Linked DNA regions of Homo sapiens: all the other regions are linked to region 2. Evidence: promoter capture Hi-C in human tissues and cell types (Jung and others, 2019). All regions are on one chromosome and are shown on one strand. Each heading gives the region's core, a stretch centred on a gene start or on the middle of the fragment in contact. The rest is flanking DNA. Distances are from core to core; before and after follow the strand shown. Region 1 holds the start of SIRPA (signal regulatory protein alpha). Region 2 holds the start of SNRPB (small nuclear ribonucleoprotein polypeptides B and B1). Region 3 overlaps PDYN-AS1 (PDYN antisense RNA 1).

What was found. The method cuts DNA at HindIII sites, captures the fragments that hold promoters and counts their contacts. A contact is called where the count stands out against the background at its distance.
Region 1: a contact is called between the fragment with the promoter of SIRPA here and the fragment with the promoter of SNRPB in region 2, in 3 of the 25 tissues and cell types used here (aorta, dorsolateral prefrontal cortex and lymphoblastoid cells).
Region 3: a fragment that was not itself captured here is called in contact with the fragment with the promoter of SNRPB in region 2 in 3 of the 25 tissues and cell types used here (hippocampus, lymphoblastoid cells and mesendoderm cells).

The regions. Positions count from the first base shown.
Region 1 is chr20:1,893,954-1,898,363 of GRCh38, reverse strand. SIRPA (signal regulatory protein alpha) reads right to left here and starts at 2,957. Exons shown (of 8, transcript NM_001040023.2): 1 at 2,838-2,957. The coding sequence starts at 2,916. LOC102724545 (a long non-coding RNA gene) reads left to right here and starts at 4,114. Exons shown (of 4, transcript NR_186374.1): 1 at 4,114-4,245. RefSeq lists an enhancer at 1,797-2,312 and silencers at 3,604-3,723, 3,734-3,993. The HindIII fragment of the contact is 18,060 bases long and covers 1-4,410 here.
Region 2 is chr20:2,468,624-2,472,973 of GRCh38, reverse strand. SNRPB (small nuclear ribonucleoprotein polypeptides B and B1) reads left to right here and starts at 2,185. Exons shown (of 7, transcript NM_003091.4): 1 at 2,185-2,286. The coding sequence starts at 2,284. RefSeq lists enhancers at 2,176-2,225, 2,236-2,285, 2,446-2,565. The HindIII fragment of the contact is 7,557 bases long and covers 1-4,181 here.
Region 3 is chr20:1,955,739-1,960,703 of GRCh38, reverse strand. The region is part of intron 2 of PDYN-AS1 (PDYN antisense RNA 1); the gene reads right to left. Among named protein-coding and RNA genes, the nearest start is that of PDYN-AS1, 11 kb to the right of the region's middle. The HindIII fragment of the contact is 7,949 bases long and covers 1-4,965 here.

The sequences.
Region 1 (4,410 bases), core at 1,708-4,207, 580 kb after region 2:
CGAGGGGTTGGTAAAGGCCAGAAAGTACTCAGAGAAAACTATGGCTTTAAAGGAACTTCCAACAGCCTGATGTGTTGAGCCAAAGCACTCCCGCCCCGTTTTCTCTTCTTACGAAAGAGGAAGTGAGATTAACTTTACCATTTAGGAAAGTACAGAGGAGCCCCCAGAGTGCCACCCTCTACCAAACGGTGAGAGGTTCACTGGGGGGCCCCGCTGCTCCCCAGAGCCTGAACTGCAACTTGGCTTGGCCTCCTCCAGGCCAGAGAGAAGAAATGAATGGGAGTTTATCTGAGGTCGGCCTGGGGGGTGACTCAGAGGTCTCAAGGCCTACCTGGGGCCAAGCAGGCATCCTGCGGGTTCAGCGTCAGGCCCTGCTGACACAAAATCAGGTGCCAGGTGTCCCCAGGCCTCAGTCCCTTGCCCTTCTCCCAGCCTCAGAATCTCCCTCAGTGCAGTTGTTTTAGGAAACAGGCCTCACATTGGGTCCAAAAACATAGGTTGGTGACTTCACTGGGATCTTTTTAGAATTTCCCTTTGGCAGCATTTGTGCTAAAAGCAATCTTTAGAAACTTCTTCTCTTGCCTCCCCCACCCAGGATAATTCACATGATTGGCCCCACCCCCCCAAAACAGTGATCATGTGAAGACACAGGAATCATGTGACACCTCCCAGGCTGACAGTTCTGCCTGAGACACTAGTAGTCATTCAATCCAAAGCCGCCTTCCTAAACCTGACATTTTAGTTTCTCACTCGAACAAATCCATTTTCTTAGAAAATTGGACAACTGCCTCCTTGTACCTTCCTACCCTCATATCCTGTCTCTCTACTTCTTTGTTGTAAATTCCATGTCTGGAGCAATAGGGGGAGGGGCCTGAGGCCCCATCCTTCAGCCAAACCAGGTGACTTCCCTGCCCAGGCCCATGGTGTGACCAGGACCCCGAAGAACAGATACTGAAGGATAATGGGAGACTTGAGCTATGATGGTCGCACCTCATCCCTTCCCCACCACCCTCGACCAAGAAATTCATTCTTACCTCCTAAGATTTATTTATTTCAAAGCTAATCTTGGCCCCTCTGCTGCTCCCACTTTTTCAGGCTATTGATGCTGAATGGATTGGAACGGAAGTTTTATGGCCCAATCTTTACCATCTTATAGACTGTTTTTATAGGCAAAAGGGGGAGATGTGCTCACAAGAAAGGTGTTGGTGTTCCCAGCCGGTGCCCCAGGAAAGGCAGGCTGCCCATCGGAGCACTTGCTAATCAGCGTCACTGCTCGTTTGCCAGGGACTGAACCACAGCCTCCTGGTCGGAGAAGGGTCTGGAATAGACATTTAGAAATTAACTCGGGCCCAATTCCCTGCTTCAGGAAAATTAAGCACTTGTGAGTGACACTTGTGCATTTCCAGGCCAGGAAGGATGGCAGGGCAGGAACTCGGACTTTTGCAGGGTACAAATGGCCAGCTCAGGCAGGAAGGAGCAGATAGGAGATGCCACTCACTGGAGAGACGTGAACTGTATCAGTGCTCCCTTCAGCCCAGCAAGGACGCAACTATAACTGAAAAGAACTGGGGGTGGAGGGTGGGGTGGGGTGGGGGGATGCCTATGTGAATTCCTGGGTTTCAGGGGAAACTGCAGGGCAGAGAGAAGCAGCTGTCTACCCCCCATACTTCTCCTTCCACCCACTCTTTGCTAGTTCTCCCTTTCTCCCTGCTATCAGATGGTTACCATCTCTAGTCAAACGCAAAAGGGGGTGTTGGACACTGAGCTCATCTTTACCTCCCTCCTCAAGGGTGGGAGGTACAGAGAGACCCCACTGCCTACAACACAGTTTCAAGACGACAAAAAACAAGATCCCCATTTTTCTCTCCCTCCCAACTCCCTTAATGCCATTTCTCTGCTCCCCCCGCCCCCCACCCGGTGCCCTCCCAGGAGACCCATGGTTTTGCAAAACCCATTTAAGAAGCAAGACTCCTGAATGGTGACCTCACCCTTTGGTGAACATGCACAGTAGCCTTCAGAGCCCGCCTGCCGGCGACAGCCAGGTGTTTGATGTAGGCCAACAGAAAGACATGGTCAGAGCCACAGGTAACATCCCCGCGGAGCACCTGAACTGCAGGGAGCTGCCTGGAAGCTCGGGGAAGGCAGGAGGAAGGGGGAGCTGGGAGCGCCTCAAGGAGCAAGACCACCAGGGAGAGGCTTTGGCAACCACAGGGACAATCCACCGTGTTTTTACATAAGGATCTGTTGCTCGCAGCAGCTCGCTCTGGGGTTACCGCGGCCTCCCGGCTCCCTCTCTCCCAGGCACACACTAACACCGGTTTACTCTGCGCACCAGAGGGAGGGCTCACTCTTCCCTAATTGCAACAGCTTGTCTCTGTTCCATTCCAGGCAGCATCGGGAGGACCTCTGCCCTCACCTCCTCCCCTCACACCCTGAAGTCAAACATGTGGAAAGTCGTATGTCCATGGGGACAGATTCTGGGGAAGCCGGACGGCCCTGCTCTGAAAGCCACTGTCAGTCAGCCTTCCCCATTGGACCGGGCAGGGGCTGAGTGAAGCAACTCGGCTCTTTTGTCTCAGTGCCCAGCACAGTGCACAGAGTCAGAGTCCACAGAGACAAACTCTCATAGAAGAGACTTGGGTTCTACCCTTGGCTGTGTGACCTTGGGCATGTCGCTGGCCCTCTCTGGGCCTCAGTTTCTGCATCTATAACCCTGGTTACAGGCGTCTCTCCCCCTATTACTGCTCGGCATTAGCCGAAGGGGTCCCAGTGCCAGTCTGAGAGGCCTGAGCCCGCAGTTTGGGGAGTGCAGCGGTGGGGAGCGGGGGGGTGCTTACCTGACCAGGCGCAGGACGCGGCGAGCAGCAGGCAGAGCAGCGGCCCGAGGCGGCCGGGGGCCGGGCCGGCGGGCTCCATGGGCCGCGGCTGCGGAGCGAGGAGGGAGAGCGGCCGTGAGTGCGCGCTCGGGCGGGAGCAGGCTGGAGCGGGGAAATGACTAAGGCTCCCCCCCTTCCCCCCTCCCGGCTGGGCCTCCCCCCGACTCCGGAACGGGCGCCTGGAGCGGCCGCCGCCGCCGCCGCGGTTTTTGGAGACCCCCCCTCCCCGCCCCCCAGGAGAAATGGAGAGACGGAGACTGGGAGAGACCCCAAGCGCGCGAGAAATAAAGCCAGGGGCGGCCAGAGAGAGGCGGCAGGAGAGAGAAACAGACCCAAGGGAGCCAGGCAGAGAGCCAGAGACACGGAGAGGCGAGAGGGGGAGAAAGAGGGGGAGAGCGAGGAGCGAGGAGCGAGGCGGCGCGCAGACCGACAGACCGCGCGGGAGAGAGGACCGCGCGAGCAGGGGCGAGGGGCAGCACGGCCGAGCCCGGCCGCGCGGAGCCGCCCCCGCCGCTGCCCACCTGCCCCGCCCGGGCTCCACACGGCGCGGGCGGCTGGGCTCGCTCCCGGCCCGCAGTCCCGGCCGCTGCCCCCGCCCTCCCGGCAGCCCGACCCCCTCCCTCCTTCCCTTTCCCCTCCTCCCGTCTTCCCGCCGCCCGGGGAGGCTTCGGGGCTCCGGCCCCGCCGGCACCTTCTCTGCGAGCGAGCGCCCGCCTGCGCGCCCCGGGGGAGGGAGCGAGGGCTGCGAGCTGCGCGCCCGGCCGGGGAGGGCAGCGTCCTCCCCCGCGCCGGCGCCCGGGCCCCGGCTGCTGTCCCGGGAAGGCGGCCCCGCGAGCCGCCGCGGCCCGCTGGGGCTCGGGACTAGACGAGCCTCCGGCTCCGACAGCGTGCCCGTTCAGAAGCCCGCGCGGCTGGTCCCCAGCCCCGACCGGTCCCGCTCTGCCCCTCCCCGTCCCTGCCGGGCCCGGACCTGCGCCGCCCGCGAGGGCTGGAAGGCACTGGAAGCGCCGCCGGGGCTGCCCAGAGGCCGGGTCCCCGCTCCACTTTGCGCAAACTTGTTTTTCTAAGGTCAGCGCTGCGAGCTGGCTACATCGTCCTCTTAAGGTGGACCGGGGAAGTTGCGGCCGACCTCCCCTCGCCTCCGGACTCCGGCCGCGCGGCTGCTCCCCGCTTCCCACTGGCGAGAGGCTGGAGGCGGCGAAGGAGTCGGGGCGCGGGGGCGCGGGGGGCGGGGGGGCGTCTGCCTTTTAACCCTCCCCAGGAGGTCGTGCCTCTGAGCCCCAAAGCTGAAGGCCCCTCTTGGGGGTGGGTGCGGGCCGGAGGGGCCCGATCCTTTCAGAGCCGGGCCGAGGTGAAGGAAAAGAAGGAAGTAAGTGAACGCAGGGGGAAGGGGAGAGGAAGAAGAGATGATGGTACAAAAATAGCGTGTGTGTAGGAAGGACTTCGGTGCCGCCTGGAAAAGAGGCGCGGGGAGGAGAGGGAGCGAGAAGGGGGCTGTGGCGCGCAACCAGAGGGGAAGGGTCGGGGCCTTCCC
Region 2 (4,350 bases), core at 936-3,435:
TGTAGGTTCAGGTCTCTGCTCACATACCACTCCTCAGAGAAGTTTCCCCTGACCACCTAGCCAAAACTGTACCCTATCCCTCTCAGTTCCTCTGCCTTTATTTATTTTTTTCATATCACTCTAATGTTACATTGCATACTTATTTATTTGGTTTACTATGTCTTTCTCAGTAGGATGTAAAGCTCCGTGAGGGAAAGGACTCTATCCCAATAATGGTGCATGGCCTTAGTAGATGCTAAATAAAAATGATTTTAAATGCATGCATGAATGAAGTGTTAGGCAGCTGGGTAAGGTGGGGGCAAATGAACAGCTGAGGAGCCAGACGGACCTATATTCCCACTCTGACTCCGCCACTTTGGGCAACATAATTCATTTCTATGAGGCTTCGCCTCTTCATCTACAGGTGACAGGAAACGGGACAACAGAACACACCCTTTAGAGATGGTGTGAAGATGGCAAAGCACCAAGGTGGAAGCTCTCCTTGCTGGGTTTGAGGAACAGCAAGGAGATTAGTGTGACTGGAGAAGGATGAATGAGGGCAATGTTGACGGAGATGAATGAGGTTGGAGAGGAGCGCAGAGCTAGATTTTATTCCATGTGTGCTGGGAAGTTTTTGGTAAGTGGAGACCAGGACATGACATCATCTGATATCCCAGTACGTTTAGAAGGATCCCTCTGGCTGCCGTGAGAACAAGAAAGGAAGCAAAGAGACAAGTTACGGGCTCGTTCAATGATCCAAGACAGAGACGATGGTGGCTATGACTAGAGTGGACGCAATGGAGTGGGTGACAACAATCATATTCAAGATAATTTGAAGGTGGGGGCCACAGGATTTGCTGATGAATTTGATTATTCGATGGCAGAGAAAGAGAAGAATGAAATATGCTTCAAATTTGTCATTTTCTTTTTTTTCTTTTTTAATCCAAGAAACTTCGGGGATGGGGAACACTGGTGAAGTGGTTTTAGAAACAGTGAATAGAATCAAGAATTCAGTTTTCAACATGTTAAATTTGGTATACCTATTAGACATTCACATCACGCTGGCAGCTGGATATAAAGGGCCAAGAGTTAAATGAAGAGACCAAGGTTAGAGGAACAAACTTGAAAGCCTTGGGTGTATATGCTGTATTTAAAAGTCATAGGAAGGGCCCAGTGTGATGGTTCACGCCTGTAATTCCAGCACTTTGGGAGGCCAAAGTGGGTGGATCAGGAGTTCGAGACCAGGAGTTGAGGTCAGGAGTTCGAGACCAGCCTGGCCAACATGGCAAAACCCCGTCTCTACTAAAAATACAAAAATTAGCCGAGTGTGGTGGCACAGGCCTGTATTCCCAGCTACTCGGGAGGCTGAGGCAGGAGAATCGCTTGAACCGGGGAGGCAGAGGTTGCAGTGAGCCGAGATTGTGCCACTGCACTCCAGCCTTGGTGACAGACTGAGACTCTGTCTCAAAAGAAAAAAAAAAGTCATAGAAAAAAAATAAATGTCATACGACTGGATGCGATTATCAGCAAATATGGGTAGAGCCCTTATTTTGTGCTAAAGTGTTCTAGGCACTACAGCAATGAGTAATACACAAAGAGAAAAATTCACACCCTTATGGATCTTACATTCTAATGGGGAGGGGATAATAAAATAACTAACAAAAATATACAGCGTGTTAGATAGCAAGAGGGAAATACAGGAGAGATGAGGATGAGGTGGGTGGGAAGGTTACAGGATGGCTAGGGAAATCCTCACTGGGAAAATGTTATTTAAGCTTAAACCTTGAAAGAGGTGAGGGCAGCAGCCTTCTGGTATACCTTGGGGACTACCATTCCAGGCAGAGGCGAAAGCAAATGCAGAGGGGCTGAAAAAGGAGCACGTCCAGCCAGTGGAGGGAAAAGCAAGAATAGTGACTGTAGAGGAGAGAGCCGGGGAGGGTGATGGGAAATGAGGACCGAGAGGTTAATGGGAAAGGCGGGGTGAAGAGAAATGAGTGTGACACAGAGCAGCTCTCAGTACGGATTTAAGCTAGGAAGGTGTCCAAACAGGAACTTAAGGCTCTCCTTACGTCAAAGCCGGATGTTAACGCCCAGTCCCCAGGCCCCGCCTCTGCTCGGCAGAAGCTCCGCTCCGGGGCCGGAACTCCAGGGCTAGTGAGCTGGACCGGAAGTAGGTTTCTACCCGACCGCATTTTACGTGGTGCTGCATTTCCGGTAGCGGCGGCGGGAAATCGGCTGTGGGAGAGAGGCTAGGCCTCTGAGGAGGCGAATCCGGCGGGTATCAGAGCCATCAGAACCGCCACCATGGTAAGGAGGGCACAGGCTGGCGGCGCGGGAGCTTCCGAGTCTGTTGTGGAGTGGGAACCGCGACTGATCGGGGAGGAAGCCGTGGGTTGGAGCCACTTAGGGCGGTGAAGGCCTGGGCCGAGGCCGCTCGGTCTGGGCGGGAAAGACCAGGACCTTGGCGGTTCGGCTAGGCATGGGGTCGAGGAAAAGGTTGGAACCGGTGTCGGAGGCCGAGGTCGCTCGGCAGGGGCGAGGGTAGAACCGCGGCTCTCGACACCGCTGTAGCCATAATTCCTGGGACCCAGTAGGCACTAAGTTAACTTTTGCCGAATAAATATATGTCCCGGGCTTCGGAGCAGGCACTGGAGCCGCAGGGGGACCCGGTAAAAGGCTCAGACTTGCGGAAGTTTGTGAGTCTGAGAAAGAGTTGGCGGAAGTGGGTGGAAGGGGCTCGTGGACCACGCTAGAGTCTCGCTAGGTCTGCTGGATGGAGAGGAGGGCGGAGGAGGGTGATGGCGAATGGAGGAAGAGCTCCACTCAGTTGCTCATCACGTTTCCGTGTTTGCCTGTGCCTGACTTCTCAGGCGCTGGGGCTACTCTCTGAAATATGTTTGCTTCCTTCACAGAGGTAGCTGGGGACACATAATATAATTCAGTGTGGTCATTCGGTAAAAGTAACGGCAGCGGGGCGGGGTAAGAATGTTTTCTCAAATAGATGGTTCCTGAGCAGATTCCTAAAAGATTAGCAAGAATGTTCCCGGCGAAAATGGGGGGAATATTACAGACCCGGAGAACTGAAGGAACAAAGGCTGAAGGGTAACAAGATTTAAAAAGTTACTGGATTTTTCTGCGTTTGTTGACTGAGAAAAAGTTGCTGGAGGAGAAAGGAAGAAAGAAGGGAAGACGGGAAGAATTGGCAGGAGGCTAGTTACTAAAGGCCTTGCATGTTAATTTTACCTCAGTGGTGGTGAGGCATGTCATTGAAGGATTTAATTTAATTTATTTTTATTTTTTTGAGACGGAGTTTTGCTTTTGTTGCCCAGGCTGGAGTGCGGTGGATCGATCAGGGTTCACTGCAAACTCCACCTCCCGGGTTCAAGCGATTCTCCTGCCTCAGCCTCCCAAGTAGCTGGGATTGTAGGTACCCGCCACCACACTTGGCTAATTTTTTGTATTTTTAGTAGAGACGGGGTTTCACCATGTTGGCCAGACTGGTCTCGAACTCCTGACCTCAGTTAATCCACCCACCTTGGCCTCCCAAAGTGCTGGGATTACAGCCGTGAGCCACCACACCCTGCCCACTGAAGGATTTTAACCAGCAAAATGACATAAGCTTAGTGGTGTTTAGAAAGATTGCTCTAGCTCTGGCATGTATATTCGATGGGACTGGAAGCAGGGAAACCTGGTAGGATATTGTTTGGATAACTGGTTAGAATAGGCGCTGGATTCATTTTGTCTAGGTTCCAACACAGCTTCCCAGCTGTGAAACTGGGCAAGTTACTTAACCTCTCCTAGCCTCAGTGACCTCATCTGTAAAATAGGGATAATAATGGGCCCAATTTTGGGGATTAAATGAGATGTACTGTGCTTATCACAGTGCCAGATACACAGTGAGCACCCAGTAAACATTAGTTGAGCTGGACCAGTGAATGTTGCCCTAAAGGTTCAGATCCCTTGTGGTTAGAAGCTGGTTAAAATGGTCATTGAATGGAAACTGAACCACCTAACCTGAGGGAGGCTCGCAGTATCTTTGTGTGGAGTCAAGTTTTGTTTTTGTTTTTTTGAGATGGAGTCTTTCCCTGTCACCCAGGCTGGAGTGCAGTGGCATGATCTCAGTTCACTGCAGCCTCCACCTCCCAGGTTCAAGCGATTCTCCCATCTCAGTCTCCCGAGTAGCTGGGATTACAGGCACCTGCCACCACGTGTGGCTAATTTTTGTAATTTTAGTAGAGACGGGGCTTCGCCATGTTAGCCAGGCTGGTCTTGAACTCCTGACCTAAGGTGTTCTGCCCACCTCGGCCTCCCAAAATGCCGGGATTGCAGGAGTGAGCCACTGAGCCCGGCCATGGAGTCAAGGTTTTGATC
Region 3 (4,965 bases), core at 778-3,277, 510 kb after region 2:
TGCTTTAAATAGTCAAATTTGTTTTTAAAGTGATTTTTAAAGTAAGAGAAAAGAGGGGTTTTATTTGCCCATAGTTGTCATTTCCAGTGCTCTTCATTCCTTTGTGTAGAGTCAGACTCCCATCTGGTATCTTTTTTTTTTTTTTTTTTTGCCTAAAGGACTTATCAACACTTTTTTTCTATACAGGTATGCTGGTGATGAATTCTTCCTGCCTTTGGATATCTGAAAACATCTTTAGTTTGATTTTTTTTTTTTTTTTTTTTTTGAGACAGGTTCTCATTCTGTCACTCAGGCTGGAATGCAGTGGCATGATCTTGGCTCACTACAGCCTTGATCTCCCCAGGCTCAGGTGATTCTCCCATCTCAGCCCCTGAGTAGTTGGGACTACAGGCATGTGTCACCATGCCCGGCTAATTTGTGTGTGTGTGTGTTTTTTGTAGAGATGGGGTTTTGCCACGTTGCCCAGGCTTTCATTTTTAAAAAGACATGTTTGCTGGATGTAGAATTCTAGGTTGACTTTATTTTTCTCTGAGCATTTTAAGGATGCTACTCTACTGTCTTCTTACTTGCATTGTTTCTTTTGAGAAATCTGATGCCGGCCTTATATTTGTTCATGTGTATATATAACCTGGGTTTTTTATTTTCTGGCTGCCTTTAAGGTTTTTAGTTTATGTCTAGTTTTGAGTAATTTGATTATAATGGCCCTTGGTGTCATTTGCTTAATGTTGTGAGAGTCTCAAGTATAATCTCGTAAGGCAAAGTGGTATAATATCAGTCGGAAGTAGAAGGTAGAGACTGTGATGAATTAATGTGCTTGGGGTTCACTGGGTTTCTTCAGTCTGTGAATTTTGTTTACATCAAATTTGGCAAATTTTCAACCATTATTTCTCCTTCAAGCTCTCTCATATATATATATATATATATTTGATCTATATATACACACACATATATACACATATGTATATATTTATCTGCTTATAAATATGTCTATCTGCTTATACACATACCTATGTGTGAGGGTGTGTGTGTTGTGTGTTGTGTGTATATGTATATTATACTGGAAGTTGTCCCACATTTTGCTGATACTCTGTTCATTTTTTTTTTTCAGTCTTTTTTTTCTCTATGGTTCATTCTGGATAGTTTCTCTTGCTATATATTTAATTTCACTAATCTTTTTTATACGAGCCTTTTTGCTGTCTTCCATATCACAATTTAGTAACTCAGTCCTTCCTCTAGTTTCCTGAACCTATGAAATACAGCTATAATCATGGTTTTAATGTCTTTATTTATCAGTTCTATCATTTGTGTCATTTCCGGGTCAGTTTCCAATGATCAAATTTTCTCCTCATTAATGGATTGAATTTCCTTGCTTCTTTGCATGCCTGGCAATTTTTTTAATGGATACCAGACACTGAATTTACATCATCATGTGCTAGGTTTTTTTGTGTGTGTTTCTATAAATATGTTTGATTTTTTTTTTTCTGGGACACAGTCAAGTTCCTTGGAATTAGTTTAATCTTTGCTTTTAAACATTTTTAGATGGAACCATATCCATGTTTAGAGCAAATTTTGTCCAGCTACTAAGGAAGAAACCTTGTGAATCCTCTGCCTAAAGCCCTGTGAGATTTTTCACTCTGGCTCCTAAGAACAGAGACTATTCCCAGCCCTGTGGGGGAACCTGGGGTTGTTCCCTCTAATCTAATCAGGTGGTTCTTTGCTCCTCAGGTAGGTTTCATACATGCACATGCTCATTAGTACTCAGAAGACAGGAGGGGCTCTCTGCTGATCGCCAGAGGTCACCTGTGCTCTTGAACCTGCTCCTCCCCACAAGCTCTCTTCTCAGTGATACTCTGCCCTGTGAACTCCAGACACCTTGGCCTCTGGATTAATGCGTTTGCATTGCTACAACAAAAATACCCAAGTCTGGGTAATTTATAAAGAACAGAAATTTATTTCTCATGGTTCTAGAGGCTGGGAAGTTCAAGATCAAGATGCCAGTGTTGGATGTCTAGTGAGAGCTGTTCTCTGCTTCCAAGATGACGCCTTCAATGCTGTGTCCTCCAGAGGGGAGAAATGCCATGTCCTTATATGGCAGAGGGCAGAAGGGCAAAAGGATAGACTACCTTCATGAAGCCCTTTTATAACAACATTAATCCATTCATGAGGGCAGAGTCCTCATGACTAAACACCTTCCAAAAGGCCCCATCTCCCAACACTATTGCATTAGGGGTTAGGTTTCAACATAAATTTAATTTTTTTTTTTTTTTGGAGATAGGGTTTTGCTCTGTTAACCAGGCTGGAGTGCAGCGGTATAACCATGCCTCATTGCAGCCTTAGTCTCCTAGACTCAAGTGTTCCTCCCACCTCAGCCTCCTGAGTAGCTGGGACTACAGGTGTGCATCACCATGCCTGGCTATTTAAAAAAATTTTATTTTGTAGAGATGGGGTCTCACTATGTTGTACAGGCTTATTTTGAACGCCTGGCCTCAAGCAATCCTCCTGCCTTGGCCTCCCAAAGTGTTGGGATTAAGGGCGTGAGCCACTGTATCCAGCCTCAACATAATTTTTTACAGGGGACAAAAACATTCTAACCATAGCAGCCACCCAGCTCCATCTCTTCAACTCAGGAAGACCCCCGGGCCCTACCTGGACTCCCTGTCCTGTGCCGTGGCCTGAAAACTCTCTCCAGATAGTAAGCAGAGGCAATTGCTAGGCTCTCTTTTGTTTTCTCTCTCTCAGGGATCACGGTTCTGTGTTGCCTGATGTCCAATGTCTTGAAAACTGTTGATTCATATGTTTTCCCCAGATTTTTTTGTTTCAGCTAAGAGGATAAACCCATTCTCTGTTATTCCACCTTGACCAGAAGGAGAAGTCAGTGAATGAACCCAGATCTCTTCTAGAGGAACAAATATATTTCCAGGGGTTTAAGTTGGGCAACCAGGATCTATTGGTCTAAGCCATCCTAATTCCTCTACTAAATTTTTTTTTCAAAAATACTGGATGCACCAAACAAGACCTTCTATATGCCATATTTGGCCCTTGGGCTGCAATTGTGAGAATCCTGGAAACAGGAAACTTTACTTGTTTCCAGGTATTTTTTACCTGTCATTTTAACTAGTTTAAGCCTAAAAATAGTCTTTGCATATTACTGTCCAAAGCTAGGAGTTGAAAGAAACAGGATTTGAACCCAGGTCCTCTCTGACTTCAAAGATACCATCATTTCCTTCATTAGATTCCTACCCCATTGTTTTCATTTGCACTGTTATATTTCACATTATTTTGTGTGTATTCTCCCACCCCACCACCCTGCACTTTGAGACTTCCTTGTCTTTGCATCCTCTAAGTTTAGCAGAGGGCCTGACCTGTAAGAGATGTTGAGAGAATTTTTGTGGAACAAATAACTTCTCTCCTTCTGTTTGCTCTCTTAATGTTTCATCCTCCTCTAGTCCACACCCATCTATTAAATGGGAGGTATGTTACCAGCAGCACAGGTGGGATTTAAATCAAGCAGCTGCTACCTGTGAGATGATGCCTCTGCTACTACAAGAGACCTGCCAAGACACAGAGTTCATTCATTGAGGAGAAAAGGGCTGGTTAACATTCTGTAAACACAAGCTTTGAGGGATTTTAAAAAATATTTAAAGTCCTGAGATATTGAAGCTGGGACATCCAACTTCAGTAGTCATCAAAGAAATTCAAATTAACAAACAAAGTATTGGCATAATTTTAAAAAACCAATAACATGGGATATTAATAAGAATATAAGGAAAAGATGACCTCATATACTGCTGGTAGCATTATAAATCAGTATAATTTTTCTGGAAGGCCATTTAGCAAAACATATCAAAAGTTTTAAATATGCTCATGTAATTTTTCTCAGCAATTTCACATTTAGCACATTATATCCTAAGGAAATAAGCAGACAGGTGCACTGTGATTTATCCATGAGAATGCTCATTGCAGCACTGTTTAGTTGAAGACTGTGGACTAGATAAATACATCACTATGAAGGATAAGCCCACAGCCTTTGAAAGCAAATACATTGAAGAATAATGACTTGAAAAATGTTTTTGAACAATTGTTAAGAAATCTTGATTAAACAATTATATGCATATTCATCATAATTAATACTTCTTGTGTGCTTTACTAATTAACTCATATAATCCTTATAATAATAATAATCTTATGAGGCAGGTACTGTCCTTGTGGACTCAGAAGTTGCATCATGGAGAGGCAGCCTAACTTCCCTGTGGGCAGGTAGTGGGTGGCAGAGCTGGATTCCAACTACTGGTGCTCAGGAAATCTTAGAACACTGAGTCCAGTGCTTCCCAAGGTGTGGTCCCTGGACCAGCAGCCCCACATCACCTGGAACTTGTTAGAAGTGCCAAATCCCAGGCCTGGTCCCAGACCTCCTGATCAAAAGCTCTGGGGGTGGGGCCCAGCAATCTATGTTTGAGCAACCCTTCCAGGTGAATGTATGCTCAGTTTTGAGAGCCACTGTGCAATTGTAAGGGCCGAAGGGAAGCTTCTCCTCTGTCCTCTTAAGGTTTGCTGAAAACGAACTATAATAGACAGATTAGTAAAAGAAAAAGGCATATGAAATTGTATTTAACAAGGCCAGGCATGGTGGCTCATGCCTGTAATTCCACACTTTGGGAGGCCATGGTGAGAGGATCACTTGAAGCCGGAAGTTTGAGACTACCCTGGGTAACAAAACAAGATCCTGTCTCTACAAAAAATTTTTTTAAAAAATTAGCCAGGCATGGTGATATGTGTCCACAGTCCCAGCTACTTGGTAATCAGAGGCAGGAGGATCACTTGAACCCAGGAGTTTGAGGCTGCAGTTGAGCTATGATTGTGCCACTGCACTCCAGCCCAGGCAACAGAAGAACATCTTGCCTCTCAAAAAATAATAATAATAATAAAATAAATTATTTAATGTGAGTAACACAGGGGAATTATAGG